Regions from separate parts of the Homo sapiens genome. Here region 1 is linked to region 2. Evidence: promoter capture Hi-C in 16 types of primary human blood cells and fetal thymus (Javierre and others, 2016). All regions are on one chromosome and are shown on one strand. The core of a region is centred on a gene start or on the middle of the fragment in contact, and the rest is flanking DNA. Distances in the headings are between cores, read along the strand shown. Region 1 has its middle 610 kb from the start of LRFN5. Region 2 holds the start of DORIP1 (dopamine receptor interacting protein 1).

Evidence for each region. The method cuts DNA at HindIII sites, captures the fragments that hold promoters and counts their contacts. A CHiCAGO score of 5 or more calls a contact.
Region 1: a contact is called between a fragment that was not itself captured here and the fragment with the promoter of DORIP1 in region 2, in 1 of 17 cell types (M0 macrophages). The highest score is 5.8, in M0 macrophages.

Annotation. Positions count from the first base shown.
Region 1 is chr14:42,209,568-42,216,284 of GRCh38, forward strand. No RefSeq gene overlaps it. Among named protein-coding and RNA genes, the nearest start is that of LRFN5, 610 kb to the left of the region's middle. The HindIII fragment of the contact is 222 bases long and covers 4,597-4,818 here.
Region 2 is chr14:44,893,826-44,901,014 of GRCh38, forward strand. It overlaps DORIP1 (dopamine receptor interacting protein 1), which reads left to right and starts at 3,450. Exons shown (of 5, transcript NM_001017923.2): 1 at 3,450-3,743; 2 at 6,610-7,134. The coding sequence starts at 6,611. It overlaps LOC101927418 (a long non-coding RNA gene), which reads right to left. Exons shown (of 3, transcript NR_110050.1): 2 at 5,405-5,488; 3 at 5,083-5,251. RefSeq lists enhancers at 3,095-3,144, 3,769-4,268 and silencers at 3,635-3,764, 3,785-4,104. The HindIII fragment of the contact is 3,873 bases long and covers 3,109-6,981 here.

The sequences.
Region 1 (6,717 bases), core at 3,458-5,957, 2.7 Mb before region 2:
GGAGCTTCATAATACTTCAGATTCCCAAACTCTATCTTTAGACTTCAGATCAGTGGATCTAGAGTTTTGTCTCAGGTAATTTTTATGAACCAGTTAACCTATCTTCATAATTCCATGTTAAGGAAATATGAAGGGTTTAATATTTTACCTTACTTGCAAGCTAACAAATTAGCTTGCCACAGCTTCGTAGACAATGGCAGAAGATACAGGATTCCTGGGTCAGAGGGCAGCGTGATCATCATCCTATTTGCAGCAGTTCTCCTTGCCCCCAAGTCCCATAGGTCCATGCAAATAGGCCCAGATGAATGCCTGCATATGCACTGGGCTGTCTCATAAAAGAGACACCGGGCTTAGAGAATCCATATATTTTTTTTTTTTTGAGATGGAGTCTCCCTCTGTCACCAGGCTGGAGTGCAGTGGCATGATCTTGGTTCAATGCAACCTCTGCCTCCTGGGTTCAAGCGATTCTCCTGCCTCAGCCTCCTGAGTAGCTGGGACTGTAGGCGTGCACCACCATGCCCAGCTAATTTTTGTATTTTCAGTAGAGACGGGGTTTCACCATGTTGGCCAGGATGATCTCAGTCTCCTGACCTGATGATCCACCTGCCTCAGCCTCCCAAAGTGCTGGAATTATAGGCATGAGCCACAGAGCCCGGCCCAGATAATTTTATAATCCAAACTCTGGGTAAAGTTTTTCTAAAAATTTCTATAATGACTGTCACATATTTACACCATGATCTTTAGAAAGTAGAGAATAGATGCATACATTCATTTAAAATTTTAAGTTGTATTTTATTAATTATTATGAATGCATATAGTTTTACATATTTATGGGATACATGTGATGCTTTGATACAGGCTTAGGGTCTGTAATGTCAAATCAGGGTAATTGGGGTATACATCACCTTGAGCATTTATTATTTCCATGTGTTAGGGACATTCCAATTCCATCCTTTTAGTTGTTCTAAAATATACAATGAATTATTGTTAACTGTAGTCACCTAATTGTGCTACTGAGCACAAGATCTTATTCATTCTAACTGTATGTTTGTACATTATGTACCTTTGTACAAACTGTATGTATATTATCCATTTCCATTTTATCCCCTACTCTCTGCTACCCTTTCCAGCCTCTGGTAACCATCATTTAATTCTTTATTTTCATAAGATCATATTTAAAAACAATTAGCTTCCACATATAAGTGAGAATATGTGAAATTTGTTCTCCTGTGACTGGCTTGTTACGCTTAATATAATGCCCTACAGTCCATCTATGTTGTTGCAAATGACAGGATTTCATTCTTTTTCATGGTTGAATAATATTCTATTTATTTTAAATTAGAGGTGAGTAAACATGATTTTGAGCATTATTCACTTAACCCTAATGTTTGCTATCAAAGCAATTACAGGTACCTATCCTTTACTGAAAGTGATGTTATTTCTGTAAACGTCTTGTGACAAAAATATCCTCTTAATTATACTTCTGTTTTCTTCACTTGTGATATATTTTTCCAGCATAGTCACTCTTTCTGGGTAGTGGAAACAGCAGCAAGGAAAAGTGCATGACTAGAGAATATACTTTTGTAAATATGCAAACTACATGAAACGCTTGTTTTTTGTCACATTTTATTTTGACCAAAGAAGTTCCATCAAACTAGAATTGGCTCTAGTTTAATATTGGCCATTTCCGAAATATAAAATCAATATTCAATAGTACAGACTTGCTGCTATTGATGAAATCCTACATTTTATTTTGTTTTATTCATATTTCTATTCACATGGCATTTTAGGGTTTTGGTAAAATCCACTTACTGAGTTCATCCACATATTTTCCAGTATACTGCACTAATGTCATGTTCTCCATAGAACTTCTCCTTTTTACAAGATGAAAATCATTTCACCCTGTGTCTCCTTCTGAGGCCTTTTTTTTTTTTTTTTTACCTTTAATGGCACTTATTGTATCTATCTTGTATGACTGGACATATGTCTGTCTTTTCTCAGAGACAGTGAGAACTTTAGGGCAATGGAACATGTATTAGTAATTGTTTCATTCTTCCTAGTGCTAAGTATGGTTTGCCCTCATGTCATTCAGTTCTTTTCTGAAAGGCCACTTAAGGAGTCAATCTCCACTCAATTAACAGAATTAATTTCTTTAGATAATACTTAATTACTTATGTATATATTTTGCATCTGTATTTTCTTCCTCATCTATTTATGTCCATGAGAGCAAGTGCATTTTTTATTTTGCTTACAATCATATTTCCAACACTCATGCCTGGGAACAGAATAAGTGCTCAAAAAAAAAAAAAAAAATACATGCACACACACACACACACATATATATATATATATAAACATATATGTATATATTTCAAAAATACTCACCTAATGTGGAAAATATCTCTATGTGCAATGAATGTGTTCATTGTAAATTATTTATATCATTATACTACATAATTCTTAGAAGGAATGCTACTTGTAGAATCATTAATTGCAGAAATTATCTGTCCTATTCTTCTGAGTTCAGTTAGGTAATATGTCATTCTTTAACCTTTATAGATAACTAAGAATCACATACCCAGTGATTAAAAATAGGTAGGCTTATATGGGAGGGTAACTAGTACCTAGTGATTAAAAATAGATAGGCTTATATGGGAGGGTAACTAGTATCTAAGTTGCTTAACTCCAGTGGACAATGCATAATCCCATTATTTTTATTTCAACATAATAAACTACATATACTAGAAATCTTAAAAATCATTTCTAGCATATTTCTGTCTTCAGTAGCTCACACTCTTTTATTTAAGAAATACTTTTAGTAGATTACTTGAAAATTGACTGTGTACCATCAGAAAGTTTTTCACCAATATTGAACTTCCCATAATAAGTGCTACAGTAGAGGAACATAAATCAGATTTAGTAATAACCTTCTTGGGTTTGGCTTTTCTGGTAAATATTACAGAATTTTTCTGTGTTCTATTAACATTTTCTCTACAGTAAATATGCACCAAAAGTACTTTTTGTGTTTTTTATATTTTCTTATTTTGTATCTGTATTTGCATTTTGTATTCTTACAGTGGCAGAAAATTACAGAACAAAATAAGATATTTTTAATTTATTTTTTTCAAAAAGCAATCATTTTCTTGGAAATAATTTATGGAACTAGATTGTTAGTGCTTTTCTCCCCAGTTCTGTGTATAAACAAAGTCAAATATTTCCACAGCTCGTGAAGATCTGGGGAAAGTTTTATTCAGAAAGGTAAAATTTGAAGTCTAACATTTTATCAAGTTTAGAACTCTCACTGGTAAAAGCAGTAGTGCAAAAATAAATATAAAGCAAAAACAAGAAATAAGAACGTGGTTATTTCCCAACTCGAACAATCTTTTTTTCTCAAGGAAGAGCCTTGGATGATTTCTGCCTGTCTTGGAAAGTAAACATTTATGTGACAGAGGAACTGGCAAATACTTTTAACTTATATCATCAAAAATTAAAATTGTAGCATGTCAATGATTCCTGCTGTGGATAAATGTTGATTTTAATATATGACAAAGTTAAAACTACAACTACATTTGGCGGAAAACAGGAAGAGTATAGCTTTATATTTGGAGCTTTGTCCTATAGACCTCTATTTCTAGAGTCTGTTGATTATCAAGGGTCCAGAGAACAAAATCAAACATGGTTCAATATGTAATATTATGATGTATACATTTTATATTCTAAAGAGAGACATCAGGAAATGTATGTAATAAATTATCAGTTACCAATGTCTTTTGAGTTTGATGTTAGCTGCCTGCTTTCCTAAGTGTGAATGAAATTCAATTTCTCTAAAAAAACTCAAAGTGCATCAAATAGTATCAATTAAAATAAGCGTTCAGAAGAATTAAATTTCTTAATGCTTATGAACAGAGTCAGAAAAATATACTATGGAAGCCGAAGCTGATGGCTATTAAGTTATATATGTGTTTCTATAACAATTGTAGACAATTGTAAGTTAAAAGCCGCCTATAGGCAGTGGTTTAGAGAAATGGAGAAATGACTATTTAAAAATAATATACACTATAAGTAATAATGGTGAATTCAATTTCATTTTTGAAAAATATCTTTAGTTTTTGAAATCACTGTAAATACAATCAAAATATGCTTTTCATACATAGTAACTTCATCTTTTATCTCTTTTTGAGTCATAGATCTCATACCTTCTACCTACAAAAGGAACAGATTCATATGATATTAAAACCTACACCTTTACTACAACTTTTCTGTATGTGCCTCATTGACCTTCCATGTATTGTAAGTGTAATTTCACTTTAAAGCATTCTTAACGCTTTCCTACTCACATAACTAATGCCTTTTCCTTCTCTCATTATTTTCCATTGCTATTTAATTTTACTGCTGTATTATTTTTATATTCCTCTGAAATGAAATTTAGAATGAAAAACTTCTCAGGATCACAATACTGTGATAACTAAGCAGATACTCTCTGTCATGTGTATTATTATTGTAGTATTTATGCATGATATAGGTGATGAAAAGCTGTTAGTGAATTTTATGCTCATTTTCCCTGTAATATGATGTTGATTCCTAATCACTTTTTGAAGCTTCTTTGCAGTTTTTTAAATTCTATTGCTGTTGAATAATATAAACTTGGAAATATTAAAAAAATCATAATTTTGTAAGACTAGATATGGTGCATATTTTTCAGATGTAAAAATAATACTGATATTTAACAGTATGTGCCACTTGAATTGTAAATATCTTACATAAATATATAACTGCCCACTTAAGTGAAAACCTAGCTTTGACCGAGGCACCCGGAGAAGCTTCTTTTCCTTCTTCCATACCAAATCCATCAAGGTGACCCATTCAAAATAATTGCTGACACTAGGAATGACTCTCCCTATTCTCAGCTTTTCCTTTTCCTTTTCTTTTTCTGATACAACAGTGGCCACTGCTGCTTGCTGAAGCCAGTAGTTAGTTGGGGAGTCTGCTGCTCCTCATTCTTCCACCTTCCCCACCCAAAAATAAGTTCTGGACACTTTAATTGCTGTGCAATTAAAGCATTGGATAATGGTGATGTTTCTGAAAAAAGACGTGGAGTTGATACTACCCCTTTTTAAAACATCAAATTTAAATTGTGGTCCCAATAGACAGGTATGTGTCATATAAAAGGATCATAAAGTTTAATGGTAATATTTAAATAACAAAAGTTTACAATGTTTTAATTTTGAAATATGTACAAATGTGAGGGACTCAAGAAAATTTCTAATTTAGTACCTCACTCGTTTGTTTTCCAATATGCTTTTTGAGTGGGTGGAGTTACAGTTAGTATGCTATGAATAGAATATACCTCTTCAGTAATCTAAGTTTTGTGCAATGAGCATGAATATTTCTAATGGTAATAACTGTGTTGTTTTGTCCTGAAGCATTCTTTCTTTTGGAAAACACCTACCTCCTCTCACCATTCTTATCCCATGATAATCTTGGACCTTGTGGTTTTGTTAAAGCTGATTCCATATCCCTGTCATTGAAATAACACACTCCTGGTCCTGTGACTAACCACATGGCACATGACCTAAGCCTTAGTTGTCAGGATGCCCTACCCCTTGCCACAGTGATAATTTCCAGGGCAAGTAGGGAAACCTAGTTGAATCTATTAGTCTTTTCAAAAACCTTTTACACAGCCAAAAAAAAAGTCCTTTTTAAGAGGTCAGCTGGAAAATGTGCTTTACAGAAAAGAAGGTGGAGCTCTGAAATAGAAAGGTCAAGTGACCCCAAGTCCTAAGTTCTTTTTTAGCTCATGTTTTCTTTTTGTTCCTCTTGCCTGGGCATGGAAGTAGTGGCCTACTGCAGTTGCTATTTTTGGGTTGTTTCCCTGACAACTGTTTGTTTCCTCAGGCTCTTCCATCATCTGAGTAACCTAGTCTCTGTTTTAAACACCCAAATGTTTGTCTTTTTTTCCTCCTGTTTTTGTCTTTGTATATTGATGGATAAATTTTCAGATACTATTTTGTTTGTTTTGTTTTAGCAAGAGTTCTTTATTTTCTTCAAAGGCTTACAAAGAAGCTTAATAAAACAGATAAAAGTAGAGCTATGAGTAGAAGTCTTTGGTGACAAAATGTTATACAACCTAACTGACTTAAGTTGTCTAGCTAGATAGCTTCTAAAATCCTGAGAACACTACTTAATAAAATTTAAAATTTACTGCTATATTCTTTTCAGTTGAGAATAGCTACATATACTATTAGTATATAGGTGTCATAGAATTAAAAATAGGAAAAAACTCAGAAATGTTATTTATTTTTTTTATTTTTTTATTTTTTTGAGACAGAGTCTTGCTCTGTCGCCCAGGCTGGAGTGCAGTGGGACGATCTCGGCTCACTGCAAACTCCACCCCACGGGTTCATGCCATTCTCCTGTCTCAACCTCCTGAGAAGCTGGGACTACAGGCGCCCTCCACAGCGCCCAGCTAATTTTTTTTTTTTTGTATTTTTAGTAGAGACGGGGTTTCACTGTGTTAGCCAGGATGGTCTCAATCTGCTGACCTCGTGATCCGCCCACCTCGGCCTCCCAAAGTGCTGGGATTACAGGTGTGAGCCACTGCATCCGGCCTATATAATGTTATTTTTAACATTTTATTTTTTTTTATTATTATGGGTACATACCAGGTGTATAGACTCATGGGGTACATGTGATCTTTTGATACATACATATAATGTA
Region 2 (7,189 bases), core at 2,200-4,699:
TGATATCAGGATATTTCTTTCTCAAGGCCTCTCATTGAGGGGTAATTATGGGCTGGTTGTGTCTGTCACATAGCCTCTCCAAACAGGCTCTGTAACTTTAAGTTCAGATATCAATGTCTTCCTCTCATCTTTTCAGATATTTTTACATCCCAGGATAATTACTGGATTATCTGTTGTGGTGGAGTCTGGACCTTTTTAAACATCTACCAACAAAGTTTATAGATTTAAAGCAAAAATTCAGCTTTTGGAAAAATGAGATTAAAAATAGTTTACTAGTAATGTAACTGAGCATTATAATTTGAATTCTAAAGAGGACTTATTGAGACTAGTAGAAGGCCGGGAGCAGTGGCTCACACCTGTAATCCCAGCACTTTGGGAGGCTGAGGCGGGTGAATCACCTGAGGTCAGGAATTCAAGACCAGCCTGGCCAACACAGTGAAACCCCGTCTCTACTTAAAATACAAAAATTAGCTGGGCACAGTGGCAGGTGCCTGTAATCCCAGCTACTCGGGAGGCTGAGGCAGGAGAATGGCGTGAACCTGGGAGGCGGAGCTTGCAGTGAGCCGAGATAGCGCCACTGCAGTCCGGCCTGGGCGAAAGAGCGAGAGTCTGTCTCAAAAAAAAAACAAAACAAAACAAAAAAAAACCCCAAAAATGTCCTATTTAAATTAACAATATTGGTCTCCAGTCTTTGCAACCAAAGAACACTTACTGATATCTCCACTGCTAGCATACTGTGTGACATATGGTTGATGATTGATAATAAATAAATAAAGTGTTTATAAAATGGTATTGGGCAACTAATTTTTTTGTTTTTGTTTTTTTGTTTAGATGGAGACTCGCTCTGTCGCCCAGGCTGGAGTGCAGTGGTGTGATCTCGGCTCACTGCAAGCTCCGCCCCCCTGGTTCACGCCATTCTCCTGCCTCAGCCTCCCAAGTAGCTGGGACTACAGGTACCCGCCACCATGCCCGGCTAATTTTTTATATTTTTAGTAGAGACGGGGTTTCACCATGTTAGCCAGGATGGTCTCGATCTCCTGATCTTGTGATCCGCCCGCCTCGGCCTCCCAAACTGCTGGGATTACAGGCGTGAGCTACTGCGCCCAAGCTGCGCAACTAATTTTTGACAAAAGCACAAAAGCAACCCAGTGGAAAAAGTACAGGCTTTTCAAAAAAAAAATTGCTGCGATGACTGGGTATCCATACATCAAATATGAACTTGGATACATGCCTCAAACTATATAAGAAAGTTAACTACAATGCATCATACATCTAAATGTACAGCTTGAACACATAAAACTTTTATAAGAAAACATAGGAAAATTTCTTTGTGAGCTTGGGGTAGGCAAAAATTTCTTAGAAACAACACTAGAAATGTAATCCATAAAATAATAAATAAATTAAACTTTATTAAAAGTTAAAACTTCTCTTCAAAATACACTGCTAAGAGAATGAGGGCCAGGTGTGGTGGCTCACGCCTGTAATCCCAGCACTTTGGGAGGCCGAGGTGGGCAGATCACCTGAGGCCAGGAGTTTGAGACCAGCCTGGCCAACATGGTGAAACTCTGCCTCTACTAAAAATACAAAAATTAGCTAGGCATGGTGGTGCACGTCTATAATCCCAGCTACTCGGAAAGCTGAGATACCAGAAACTCTTGATCCTGGGAGGCGGAAGTTGCAATAAGCCGAGATCATTCACTGCACTCCAGCCTGGGTAACAGATCAGGATTCTGAAAAAAAAAAAAAAAAAAAAAAAAAAAAAAGGCAGAGTTGGGGGGCGGTAGGTAAGCAGAAACTTAAGTGTGATGGGCATACTCATTTGATCACAGTGATGGTTTAAGGGGTTATACATATGTCAAAACTGATAAAAATTATACACTTTAAGTATGCTCTATATATTCTATGCCAATTATACTTCAGTAAATATATCTAAAAAAACCCTACAACTCAGATGTCAGATTTTGAAGACGGTGGAAAAGATGCAGAATGGAAATTTCAGTTAAAGGCCTCAGTGATGTTTGTGAGTTATCCAAGTATTCAAGGAATCCATGCTTCCTCCATCTAGCTGAGACTCGGCAGAGTTTAATGAGCAATCTCAATACTATTCTCCAGAAATGGTGTCATCCACCATACTATGGCTGTTTTCAGGAAGAGAATGACCTAATCAGTATAAAATGAACTCCATGTCTTGTGAGAGATTTATAATTAAACACATAATCCACATTTACAAACATTTTTAAAGGGCTTTTCTACCTGTAGGAGAGGATTAATATTGAGAGTGAACTTTTTGCAAGTTTTCCAACACACTAGTTTATCTCTAAGAGCCTCAGTTTCCTCATCTATAAAATACCATAAGAAATAAGAAAAAACAGGAAACTAAAAAGAGCAGGCTTTGCCAGAGCTATTAATTATTCTTTTTTGGGCAGAGCCAAAACTCAAGAAATGGAAGTCTCTCTTCCATTTCTAGACTTTTTTAGAGAGATCCATGAGGAAGTTCCCCTCCATAGCTTTGGCCGACCATCACACCGGTCAAGAAGGCATCCAGCCTCTCCCAGGCTCAGCCTGTGACGGAAAACCACACTGATTTACTAGGATAGCCTTGAGCTCTCTCATTAGCCCTCACGTGTTCTGAACGTTAGAGCTAACTTTCCAGACCCTCATTATTTGTTGAAAGGCTGGATGGGGAAAATCTCAACCAGATCTCCATGCCTACTTGCAAGGAGAGGTAGTTTTTGCAGGGTGGCCTGTGTTCTCCAGATGCAGAGCCATACAGGGCCTTGCTTCTTTACGGGAGATACAAAAACTCGGCCCTAATAAACAGAAATAGTGGTTGAGCCCACAAACTAGCATTAAGTTGTCCTAACTGTAATTTCCAGCTCCGTCACTTGCTGTGTGGGACCTTATTATCTCCAAAACCCAATTTTTTCAACTTCACAATGGAATTAAAACAATCTAATTTTTCAAAATGGGGTTAACTTCCACTGTAAGTTACAGTATATTGGCCAATAATTAACTTGAACACTAAAGCTGGCATTTAACAGATCAATTCAACTGTTTTCTAAGTAAATACTTAAACGCTTAAAAAACCGTAATTTACTGAGAAAACAAAGCTTTCTTTCTAGGTTAAGAATTTGAGAAAACAAGACCCAGAAGCAAACTAAAATCAAGTCCTAAAATGGTACAAACCTCAAAAAGCCAATCAGGTTTGCCAATAAAGCTCCGCCTCCGTGCAAACTCTGCCCACTTCCGGCTTCCCCACCCACCTTCTACCAGTGGAACCCCGCCCCTCTCTGCGAGGTCCCGCCCCCCACACCTGATCCTGGTTCCCATTGGGCGAATCTGGATGCTGTATACACAGCCGACACACGCACATTAGGCTGGGGCGTCTTCGCGCCTGCGCAGCTGCGCTGTCAGGCGGCTGAAAACGGGGGGGTTGGGGGGAGGGGGGCGGAGGTCGTGCCGAATCTTCCTCCGTAATAAGAAGCGACGTGTCCCACTGTCCTGGCTCCGTGGGTCCAGTGAGATTGGGCCTGGGCGCTGGAGCTGCTGTGGCTCCCGCCGCGGCGGCTGCCATGGAGGCCATGCCAGAGCCCAGAACTCACGCCGGGGGAGGCCGAGACAGCCGGCGGTACTCATAGATGAGGCAGCGGCGGCGGCGGCGGCGGCGGCAGCCCGGGCTCTCCATGAGCAGGCGGCGGCGGCGACGGGTGCGGCGGCACCGGCAGTTTTCGGTCCCCAGGGAGGTACGAGGAGTTTGCTTCCTGGTGGACGGAGACTGGCCGGTGTGGGAACGCCTTCCGCGGCCCGGCCCTCCAGCCTATTTGTCCGCAGTTCTGAGCACTCGGCGGGGCACTGCCCGGGCAGAGGCGGGGGCGCCCAGCCGACTCGCGGGCCCCTAACTCGGGGACCCGCCCGCCTCGGTGCCAGGCCTCCCGGGCGCGGCTGCCCAGGGCCAGGGTGGGCGTGGCCGGAACGTGGGGGCTCCCCGGGGGCGCACGCCTAGCGTCCGCCTTGTCCCTGTCCCGAAGTCCCGCGCTGCTGGGAGCGGTAGCGCGTGGCTGTACAGGCGTATTTTAGGCGCTGATTTGAGAGGGGACTTTTAGAATCCCTGAGTCCTTAGGGAGTCTGGCGTTCAATGCCTTGGGCATGTGGTGGGGTCCTCACGGCTAGCTTGGGGTACCAATTTCCTCCCTTGGAAGTCACCACGAAAGAAAGATGTTTTGTCAAAGAAATAGAGGTCAGGAGAGTTTTCCAGGTTTATTCAAATTGGAGGGCCCGTAGAGCCTGGAGAATAAAGCCAGCGGAATACATCCTCCAGTCCTTCTAATTACAGTTCCTAGCTAAACAGCTAAGACAATTTTAAGTAAAGCTCTTCACAGCTATCTTTCCATCATTTTTCCCCACCCCTCATTTTTATTGCAATTTACTTTGGAACAAATCACCAAATTCATGATGAAACTAGTATCCTCTAGTTCTTCCAAACCTTCCCTCCTCCCGTTTTTTCCAGAGAAAGACTAAAGTTTCATGCCACATATGTCATTATAGTTTAATTCTCTTAGAGTGTAAGGGTAGTTACACTTCATTTGGTCATGTCTGAAGATAATGTGAAGAAAATATCCTAGAGATTTATGCTTCCTTCCCAATGCACTATTTTAGGAATCCGAACTCAGGCTCTTTAAGCAATCTTAAACCTTGCTACAAAGTTCTTTAAAATTCAACGGAAATAAATCAAACCATAAAGTTATTTTCGTTTTTAAAGTATTTGAATGCATAACTGTTTTTTAAAATCTTTGTAAACAAAACGAATCAGTATCTATTACGAAGAAACTGAGTTTGTGTTTTCCTAGGCTGCAGATTTGCCACACCCTCTTCTTCCTAAGTGGATGACTAGAATCAATGTGTTGGCCAACTAGATATAAACATCCACTCTTCATACTAAATATAGTTACTGGATATTTTAGAGTCCACAGTATCTTGCTTCAAACTGAAAACACTGTGTTCATGTGTGTTTAATATATTGCAGAAGTGAATTTTTACTCGCGTTGCAGAATGTTTTGGACTTAGTTTCTTACACAAATAAAACACGTAGGACTGCAGCTTTATTAAGTGTTGAGTTCATGTTGTGTTTGGGAGGATGCAGCACTTGGAAAAGATGGTCAAAATAAGACACTGATCTCAGTCACTCATTTCTCTGTTTCCACTCCTCAGATGCCTCCCTTTTTTCATAACAATACTTCTCCATAAAAGTAACCTCGGAAAACAATATGATGTTGTTAGTTTATTTGCTTGTCCCAAGTAAAGTGAAGGAGTTTTTTCAATACAATTGTAAAAAGAACTCATTCTTTCAAAAGTATGTGCGCTATATAACATACATATAACACAACATATTTATTAAAATACTTACTGTGGCTTTAAAAACAAAGTGCCTAGTGGTCCTCAAGGTTGGGGAAGAGTGCCAGTTTGAAAAGGGAGGATGCTTTGCTTCATTCTGAAAACATGCATAGGGAATAATCAGGATATTTATCAAGTTCTGAATCAGATCTTCATAGTATAGCCTCTGTAGTTAAAAATTATAGTATATCTAAATTGCACAATAGCACAATTCTCAGTTGCAAATAAAAATCCCAAAGTGATTAGCAATATTAGCTATGCTACTATTCACTTAAGATTGATTTTCATGATTACTCCTCATGCTGTCTTTCAAAGCTAAATGTCAGAATTAGTCTTAGTCTATATAGCAACAGGAGTTTTTTTTTTTACATAGTTTTTCTCTACAACAAATAAAATATGTAGTATAGTTAATATAAAGATTATGTAATGGCTATTATTCTGTACCCCCAATTAAGGATCCCATTATATTAGTTTCTTAAGTGGAATCACCCATATTAACAAGAAAATGAAGCAAGCACAGCCTGTATTTTGGAAAGATGAGGAGGTTTACATTAGGAATATGCCTAACCAAAGTTAATGTTTTTAATAGCTTTATTTTCATTTAGGAATTTTTTTTTTTTTTTTTTTTTTTTTTGAGATGGAGTTTCACTCGTTGCCCAGGCTGGAATGAGATGGCGTGATCTCGGCTCACCGCAACCTCCGCCTCCCAGGTTCAAGCGATTCTCCTGCCTCAGCCTCCCGAGTAGCTGGGATTACAGGCATGCGCCACCACGCCCAGCTAATTTTGTATTTTTAATAGAGAGAGGGTTTCTCCATGTTGGTCAGGCTGGTCTCGAACGCCCGACCTCAGGTGATCGCCCGCCTCAGCCTCCCAAAGTACTGGGATTACAGGTGTGAGCCACCGTGCCCAGCCTCAGGATTTTTTTTATTACAGGGTTTCCCTCTGTCACAGATAAAATCTGCAATGTAATTAATATAAAGCCTATCAAATGGCCATCTGTACCTCAAAAAAAGACTGCAGCTTCTTAAATGGTCTTTCCAGAGAGCATGCATAGTGCGCGAAAAGTGGCTCATTTAAATTTTTTTGCTATGTTGGGAGGCCTAATAACCACATTTGATTTGAGTCTTTAGATGGATTTATTTTCGTTTAAACATATTATGCATTTAATATACAAAGTTACAATTTTATGTGTTCTGTTTTAAACTTTTAAAATGTAGGATGAAGACACTGTTTGAAGAGATCAAAGCATCAATTAAAAATAACTATAACCAAGATCGATCATTTTGTAGGCCTGTTCTTCCTTGGGGGGGTGTTTTTACTATCAAAGCTGGCCGCAAAGCAGTATCCTGTACACCACTCTATGTTGAAATAAGACTGAAAAATACCTGCACCATAGATGGATTCTTGATGTTATTATATGTCATTCTTAATGAAAATGAAAACTTCCCTAGGGAACTCTCTCTTCATTTTGGTAGAGAGTTTGTAGACTGTTTTCTTTACTTAATGGACACCTACAGTTTTACAACTGTGAAGCTACTTTGGATTTGGGACAAGATGGAAAAACAGCAATACAAATCTGAAGTCCATAAAGCTTCATTAATAATTGATTTGTTTGGGAATGAGCATGATAATTTTACAAAAAATCTTGAAAATCTCATGTCTACCATTCAAGAGAGTTACTGTTCCAACTGGCGATGCCCAACTCGAGTGCAGGAGGATCAGCAGCGCACAATTAATATAAAGTAAGTTGGTCTAACGTCTGTTTTGTCACTTTTACTTTTTTTAATGAATGTTGCT